Regions from separate parts of the Homo sapiens genome. Here regions 2 and 3 are each linked to region 1. Evidence: promoter capture Hi-C in 16 types of primary human blood cells and fetal thymus (Javierre and others, 2016). All regions are on one chromosome and are shown on one strand. The core of a region is centred on a gene start or on the middle of the fragment in contact, and the rest is flanking DNA. Distances in the headings are between cores, read along the strand shown. Region 1 holds the start of GLA (galactosidase alpha). Region 2 holds the start of TCEAL8 (transcription elongation factor A like 8). Region 3 holds the start of ARMCX5 (armadillo repeat containing X-linked 5).

Region 1 (2,694 bases), core at 66-2,565:
AACAGTTTTCCTATTAACCATCCTAAGGTCTCAGTGACAGATTTACAAGCTGTTTTTTTATTTCATTTTGCAGGATTTTTTTTTTTTTTTTTGCTTGCCTTATCCCTGGGATAACCCGTCCCATTTAATTCCCTGCACCGCTCTATTCCTTAAGAGCCCTTCTGTAGGGGCAGAGAGGTTCTACTTCATTACTGCGTCTCCTGGGAAGGCCATCAGGACTGCTGGCTAAAGTGGGAACCAGGACTCTTTGTGAGTTAAGAATTTGTGTATTTATATGTGTGTTATACACATTTTTTAAAAAACTGTAACGACATCAGGTTGAGCAGTCGTCTCCGGGTGGTGAATTATGTGTATTTTTAAATTTTATACTATATTGTTATTTTTCAAATGTTCGAAATTGAATATGTAGATTGTTGTTATCAGCAGAAAAATAAACATTATTCAAATACTCTATTCAGTAAAGTAATTTATTGGGCGCCTTTGTCAAGCACGCATTTGCCTAGATGTGACTCTACAGATAAAATTCACTTGGGGCCTCCCCTTACAGACAATCAGGCAGTGGAGACTGAGTGCCTGAATGGATAGACCAGCACTCAGACCACTATTTTCAGTATCTGTTTTTCTTAACTCAGGGCCGTGGTTTTCAAACGTTTTTCGCCTTACGGTCACCCTTAGGGGTCCCCCGAGACCGGCCCAGACAGACAGATATACAAAAACACATACACAGTCATGAGCGTCCACCATTTCCCCACCAGGCGCAGCACAGGCGGCTTCCCGGCACTGAGATGGGGGGGAGGAGGGAGAGAGCGCGAGGGGGGAGGGGAAAGCAGAGAACGAAAGAGGCGGAGGCGGCCCCCGAACCCCGCTCTGGTCTTCATCATCACCACCCCTGGGTCCCCAGTTCCCACCCACACACCAACCTCTAACGATACCGGGTAATTTTCCTCCTTCTTCCCTCAAACGGCTATAGCGAGACGGTAGACGACGACCAGAACTACTTCTGCTCACGTAAGCGAGTAATCACGTGAGCGCCTACGTCATGTGAGATCTCGGTCACGTGAGCAACTCTCGGCTTAAACTCGGGATCACTAAGGTGCCGCACTTCCTTCTGGTATGGAAATAGGGCGGGTCAATATCAAGAAAGGAAGAGGGTGATTGGTTAGCGGAACGTCTTACGTGACTGATTATTGGTCTACCTCTGGGGATAACCGTCCCAGTTGCCAGAGAAACAATAACGTCATTATTTAATAAGTCATCGGTGATTGGTCCGCCCCTGAGGTTAATCTTAAAAGCCCAGGTTACCCGCGGAAATTTATGCTGTCCGGTCACCGTGACAATGCAGCTGAGGAACCCAGAACTACATCTGGGCTGCGCGCTTGCGCTTCGCTTCCTGGCCCTCGTTTCCTGGGACATCCCTGGGGCTAGAGCACTGGACAATGGATTGGCAAGGACGCCTACCATGGGCTGGCTGCACTGGGAGCGCTTCATGTGCAACCTTGACTGCCAGGAAGAGCCAGATTCCTGCATCAGGTATCAGATATTGGGTACTCCCTTCCCTTTGCTTTTCCATGTGTTTGGGTGTGTTTGGGGAACTGGAGAGTCTCAACGGGAACAGTTGAGCCCGAGGGAGAGCTCCCCCACCCGACTCTGCTGCTGCTTTTTTATCCCCAGCAAACTGTCCCGAATCAGGACTAGCCCTAAACTTTCTCTGTGTGACCTTTCCTGGGATGGGAGTCCGGCCAGCGGCCCCTGTTTCTTTCTCTCTCTCTCTCTCTCTCGTTCTCCTTCTCTTTCTCTTTCTCTTCTTTCCTCTCTCTTTCTCTCTCTCCCTGCCCGGTTCTCTTTTTTCACTGCTCCTTGCAGAGCAGGGCCACCCCATAGGCAGTGTGCCCAAAGTAGCCCTGCCCGGTTCTATTCAGACCCTTCTTGTGAACTTCTGCTCTTCCTCTGCCGGGTGCTAACCGTTAGAACATCTAGGGTGGGTAGGAGGAATGGGGAACTAAGATTCGTGCCATTTTTTCTCCTTTTGGGGTCGTGGATTTCTCGGCAGTATCTCGAGGGAGTTAGAGAGACCATAAGGTCGCTGAGATCTCTCCCACCTCGCCCATGAGCGTGGCATCAGGCTGGAAGGTTGACATGGAGGAACTTTATACATTTACACCTTTGCGTGAGGGTTGAGGCTGGATTAGATAGGTATTGAACATATCTGACCCTCACAATCCTTATCTGTAAATTGGGATTACAACCTTTTAATTTCAGGGAGCTGACAAAAAAAATCTGAAAAATAGTTCTTATCTCACACAGGTGAGTTTTCAAGGAGATAACCTATTTAAAGTACATAGCACAGCGCTTGACCATTCAACTGCGCTTACAGAGCAAATGTTCAATGGGAAAATGAATGTAAATCTACAAATCTGAATGAATATGTGTATTTTTCTGGAGAGAGGATATTTACCTTTCTTCAAATTCTCAAAGGGCTCTGTGATTTAAAAAAGGTTAGGAATCACTGATAGATGTTGGTAAAAGGTGGCAGTCACAGTACATTTCTGTGTCCATAAGTTATTCCTATGAATATCTTTATAGATAAAGTCAGGATGTTGGTCAGACATCACAGAAGAAATTGGCCTTGTAAGTTTCATGTGACCCTGTGGTACAGTATGTGTGGCAATTTTGCCCATCACGGATTTTTTTTTA
Region 2 (2,694 bases), core at 62-2,561, 1.8 Mb before region 1:
CCCCCTCTGTCTTCTTCTGACTCTCCAGCTGGCTCCATTGGCCAGAATGCCACTCCAGGCACCACCATCCTTCCAAGTACCAGTGGATTCTGAGTTGCAGGGATATCAGTTTCCTGTTTAATATTATTTTTTACAGCAATGTTGTTCTCTTTGCTTTCTAATCATAACAATTATGCATGTCAATAGTTCTTTTAATGGGACACAGTGGATGATACCAGACTATCTCAAGAGTGCCATGAATGAAAATGCCATGCAAAGAAGCCTCAAGCCTGATGGTGAGATACAGAGAATTCTCTTTTCTGAGTGTTTCATGAGTGTATGAGTTATTTCCCAACAACGAAATGTTTTCCAAGAAACATACTACTTTGAGTTCCAAAAGAATTTTACTCAGTGGAAAGCAGGCTTTTCTGTGGACTTATCTGATTAACAAGATACTGAATCCTATAGAGGAAATGGGGAGGAAGTCTGTCTGAAGCCTCCAAGTGAAACCTTAGTGGATGCCACCAGTGGTCATCAATGAAAAAGATCAGACATCCAACACTTGATAACTTGAGTTCTGCCAGAAATAGAAAGAGTAGTAGATTACCTATACAAAATTGCTAACAAGAGAAAACTAGGCCTCCTTCCACACATTAATTTGGGAGTCAATTTTTTAAGTGCTGTTTGGTAAGATTTTAAAAAATTCTAACACATCAATATGTTGTGAATATTGTCATTTCATTTCCAGCCATTAGAAAACTTTTCCAAAGTCTTACACATTGATATAACTAATTTGTCCTTCATATTAAGTGTTACATATTGCTTATGAGGCATCCGTTTTCTGATACCATTTTTAAAAGTATGCTGATTGCTGAAAACATAGAACACAACAGAAAACTATTCAAGAGGATTAGTCAAATCCTCCACTTTCAACCTTAGATTCTTTTCCAGCCCCCTCTTCCCGATCTACCACCTTTGCCCATTTCAATGCTGGATAGGATTCCAGGGGAAATGGTGGACTGTAGGGGTCTTGGAGGAGGGGAGGTGGGAGTATTGGGAGCAGAAGAAAGAGATGATTCCTCAAAGAAGGAGAAATGGTCGATTACCCCTAAAAGGCTGATCCTCCTGGTAATCTGAGAAAGGCGAATAAATACTCCAGGGCGAAGATAACAGTTTATTGTCTCCGATTGGCAAATACGAAAAAAGATTGACAGTATCAAGTGGAGGGAACGCAGCGGGCGGGCTGCAGTGTTAATGGGAGGGGTAACTGGGGACTCGAGCTCAGTGATGACGCGACTCTCACGTGACCAGGAGTCGACGTGTGCAGAAGTCCTTATAGTCCAGGGCCTGTTTCCCTGTAGCAGCTCCTTATTGCTGGAGAAGGAGAAAAGTGCCCAAGATCCTTTCAGGTTAGTATAAACGTGGGCGCTGACTTGGAGACCCTGGGGTCGAGGAGGCCGAGAGCAGAAAGCAAGCGGGGCCGGCACTGCTTTCCCCACTTCTGTTCCGCCAAACTCCCATTTTGTGCAGGAAATTTGGGGCTGTTTGGTGGGGGATGGCGGGTGGAGAGAGAGAAGGGTAGCTAATTAAGGGTCCTGAGAGAGAGACATAGAAACTGTTTGGAAGAAACTTGCTTTTCCTACTCCCTGCTTGCAGAAAAACGGTGGGCACGGAGGAGGGCGGGGTTGCCATAAAAGGAGGGCGAGGATGAGGACATGGGAAACTTTACACCAACATGGCCTAGAATCATGAAAGGGACCCGTGATCCAGGTACTAGTCTGCTCACCAAACACTCCCATCTGTCTGCAGGATATTTGGTTTTTTGGGCGCGACACAAATCGAGGTGAGGGAAGAGAGAGGAAAATCCCCTGAATCCCTGCAGGTCAGTTTTTGTAAAGGTGCAATTGCTTCAGGTCTCTTCGGGTGGGGGTGGAAGTGTGAGTGACACCAAAGCACATCCTGGGGTCGCAGCAGCCCCTCCCCATCCGGATTAAGTGCCAGAGGCCGGTGCCGAGCCTGCAGCGGAAATGAGGCGGGGGAGGAGGAGGCTTAAGAGACGCTGAAGGGGGAGGGGAGGCCAGAGACTGGACCAGCCGTCTCAGGTGAGAGGCTGGAGGTTGAGAGGGCCTGGGAAAGTCTGAAGGGCGGGAGTGTTGGAGACCAGAGGCGGGAGAAGGGTTAATTGCTTCCGTACTGCTCCCATTTCAGTATTAGGAGAGGCTTGTAGCAGGGCCTGCTGGGAAGATGGTGGGCAGGAGCAGGAGGAGAAAGATGGAGCTGGAACGAAAGGGGGCGCGAAGGGAGGTGGAGTCAGGGGAGTTCTGAGCCTGAGGATCCAGCTTTCTCTAGTTGGAAAACTTTTGACAATTAGGGTACTGAGTCAAAAAAGGCCAGTCGCTATGGGACCCCATACTCTGACTGCTGGTCTGTTTGCCTGGAATCTAGTAGTTTTGTTTCCTTGTTTTCTAGGATTAATTTATTCAAAAAGGAAATAAAAAATACTCAATATGCAAAAGTCTTGTGAAGAAAATGAGGGAAAACCACAGAACATGCCAAAGGCCGAGGAAGATCGCCCTTTGGAGGATGTACCACAGGAGGCAGAAGGAAATCCTCAACCTTCCGAAGAAGGCGTAAGCCAGGAAGCAGAAGGAAACCCCAGAGGAGGGCCGAATCAGCCTGGCCAGGGATTTAAAGAGGACACACCCGTTAGGCATT
Region 3 (2,694 bases), core at 66-2,565, 1.2 Mb before region 1:
GTTTCTTTCTGGATATAAGTACCTGTTTGGCAAACATTTTCTATCTCCCCTTTTTCTCCCACTCCTAAATCTCCAAGCCCCTCTGCTCTATTCTCAAAGTCTGACAATTCCTATACAGAGACAACTCAAACATCCCTACAAGGTAGTAGTAGTGGTGTTAGTAGGGACGAAATGCCTAGACAAACCACGGAGGCTGGGGAAAAAATGAAAAGTATTTATTTCCATATTTCATCTGGGTTCCTATGTTTCCTTCCTCTCTCCCAAAGCCTATCATTTTCTGCAACATAATGCGGGTAAGGGAGGACATGTTAGGAAAGCTGGCAGAGAGTTCTGGAGGCTCCCTTACACTCCTGCCTACTCTAATCTTAGCCATCTACCACCTCCAAGTACTGCCTCCCAAGTACTGCCCACTCTGTACAAACCAGGCCAATTTTCTTTTCCTTCTCCTCTCCCCTTGAGGTCTGCTGTCCCCTACAGATCTTTACAGAAACATGGAGTGCTGCAAACTTAGGAACAGATTTACACATAAAAACGCGTGATACACACCCAAAGAACAAATGAAAAGACAGAGAGAGAGACGTGGTTATTAATGGTCAGACCAGTAACCAAGACATGAGACCCTTTTCAAATCCAGAGCCTTGATTATCAAACATTTACAACCTCTTTTTACATTCTCTCCCTCTCAGGGCTCCCCAGACAACTGTCCTCGCCTGTGGAAGTAGCCCTCTCTTCCTCATCTAGTCTGCCTTTTCCCTGCTAGAAGCTGCAACCTTTTTCTTCCCAAGCATGGTCTGAGGTGAACCGAGTGTATGGAAATCAAGCTAGCAAAAGGTAGATCATTTTTTTTTAATTGTTGTGTGCCATTCCAATTACCCATCTCTCTCTCCTTCTCACCGCCCGCCTCCCATGACCAGGTCGCGTATCCAGTGTTCACCTCTGATACCCACATCCACCCCCAAGCGATGCGCACCTTCTCACTGACCTTCTCTGCTTGGATCAGAGGCAGTTTTCTTATTTCCTTGCCTCGAGGTGCTGTGTCATACAGCAGCAGGAACAGACAGTCAGACACAAGGACTCGAGGCAATGGCGGCGGCTGTGTATGGGGATTGACTCGGCACCTGGGACTCAAGACGAGATAACCGCTTTATCAGATTAAAGACTGCGATTGGCAAACTGTTGTCACTTTTGGTATTCTTTTCTCCTTCCTGTTCCCAGGGCTCCTCAGAACCTCGCGCGTAGTTACCATTTAACATCTACCTTTTCCTCCGCAGACGAGGTTCTTCCACGTCCGCGTTACCCACAACGGCAGTGGGAGGAGCTAGAGCGTAGTTTATGGGGATCCGGCTTATGGAAGCGGAGTGATATCAGGCTTTGTTTAGCGCCGCGACTCTTTTCTGTCGGAGGGCTCCCTGTCCTGTACCCTGTGGCCGCTTCAGGTATTGGAATGCGCAGGGACGAATTCCGGATATAGGGAAAACGGCGCTGGAACAAGAGAGGCAGACAAATACCAGAGTGTTTCTGTATTAGTTCCCCTTTTGCGGGAGCTCCCCCCACCAAGCCTACCATTCTTTCCTGAACTGAAATGCACATGGGTTTCCAGCTGTGGTGTCAGGAAATCTCTTCTGGCCTGACAGGCGGAAGTGTTCCAGTCTTTCGAAGTTCGTTCTCCAAACACAGAGGCCCACTGAAATGGGCGGTCTCGGGGTGGGGCCCAGGGTAGGAAAGTCAGCAAAGAGAGTCAAGACTGAGATAGGAGGATACATACTAATCGATTCCACAAACTTTGTGTTCCTTCGAGTCCTCCCTCCCAGCCCTTAATTTTCATTTTCTTTTTTTTTTTTTTAAGTTCTAGGATACATGTGCAGGATGTGCGTGTTTGTTAAATAGGCAAACGTGTGCCGTGGTGGCTTGCTGCACCAATCAACCTATGACCTAGGTATTAAGCCTGGCATGCATTAGCTATTTTTCCTAAGGCTTTCCCTCACCGCCCCCCACAACCCCTGACAGGTCCCAGTGCGTGTTTTTCCCCTCCCTGTGTACATGTGTTCTCATTGTTCAGCTTCCACTTATAAGGGAGAACATGCAGTATTTGTTTTCTGTTGCTGCATTAGTTTGCTGAGGATAATGGCTTCCAGCTCGATCCATGTCCCTACAAAGGACATGATCTCATTCTTTATTATGGCTGCATGGTATTTCATGGTGTATATGCACCACATTTTCTTAATGTTATCACTGATGGGCATTTGGGTTGATGCCACGTCTTTGCTATTGTGAATAGTGCGGCAATGAATATACGTGTGCGTGTATCTTTGTAATAGAATGATTTATATTCCTTTGGGTATATACCCAGTAATGGGATTGCTGGGTCAAATGGTATTTCTGGTTCTAGATATTTGAGGAATTGCCACACCGTCTTCCACAATGGTTGAACTAATTTACATTCCCACCAATGTAAAAGCGTTCCCATTTCTCTGCAACTTTGCCAGCATCTCTTGTTTCTTAACTTTGTATTAATTGCCGTTATGACTGGTGTGAGATGGTATCTCATTGTGATTTTGATTTGCATTTCTCTAATGATCAGTGATGTTGAGCTTTTTTCCATGTGTTTGTTGGCCACATAAATGTCTTCTTTTGAGAAGTGTCTGTTCATGTCCTTTGCCCACTTTTTAATGGGGTTGTTTGTTTTTTTCTCGT

Evidence for each region. The method cuts DNA at HindIII sites, captures the fragments that hold promoters and counts their contacts. A CHiCAGO score of 5 or more calls a contact.
Region 2: a contact is called between the fragment with the promoter of TCEAL8 here and the fragment with the promoter of GLA in region 1, in 1 of 17 cell types (fetal thymus). The highest score is 5.2, in fetal thymus.
Region 3: the fragment with the promoter of ARMCX5 here is called in contact with the fragment with the promoter of GLA in region 1 in 1 of 17 cell types (monocytes); the score reaches 6.2 in monocytes.

What each region holds. Positions count from the first base shown.
Region 1 is chrX:101,406,546-101,409,239 of GRCh38, reverse strand. It overlaps GLA (galactosidase alpha), which reads left to right and starts at 1,315. Exons shown (of 7, transcript NM_000169.3): 1 at 1,315-1,530. The coding sequence starts at 1,337. All of the region lies in intron 3 of RPL36A-HNRNPH2 (RPL36A-HNRNPH2 readthrough), which reads right to left. It overlaps HNRNPH2 (heterogeneous nuclear ribonucleoprotein H2), which reads right to left and starts at 1,018. Exons shown (of 2, transcript NM_019597.5): 1 at 921-1,018. The HindIII fragment of the contact is 11,084 bases long and covers 1-2,694 here.
Region 2 is chrX:103,253,772-103,256,465 of GRCh38, reverse strand. TCEAL8 (transcription elongation factor A like 8) reads left to right here and starts at 1,311. Exons shown (of 3, transcript NM_153333.3): 1 at 1,311-1,388; 2 at 1,789-1,861; 3 at 2,449-2,694. The coding sequence starts at 2,487. RefSeq lists an enhancer at 1,325-1,374. The HindIII fragment of the contact is 6,472 bases long and covers 1-2,694 here.
Region 3 is chrX:102,598,136-102,600,829 of GRCh38, reverse strand. It overlaps ARMCX5 (armadillo repeat containing X-linked 5), which reads right to left and starts at 1,315. Exons shown (of 4, transcript NM_001168478.2): 1 at 983-1,315. ARMCX5-GPRASP2 (ARMCX5-GPRASP2 readthrough) reads right to left here and starts at 1,315. Exons shown (of 19, transcript NR_146584.3): 1 at 983-1,315. RefSeq lists enhancers at 1,016-1,065, 498-1,269. The HindIII fragment of the contact is 9,703 bases long and covers 1-2,694 here.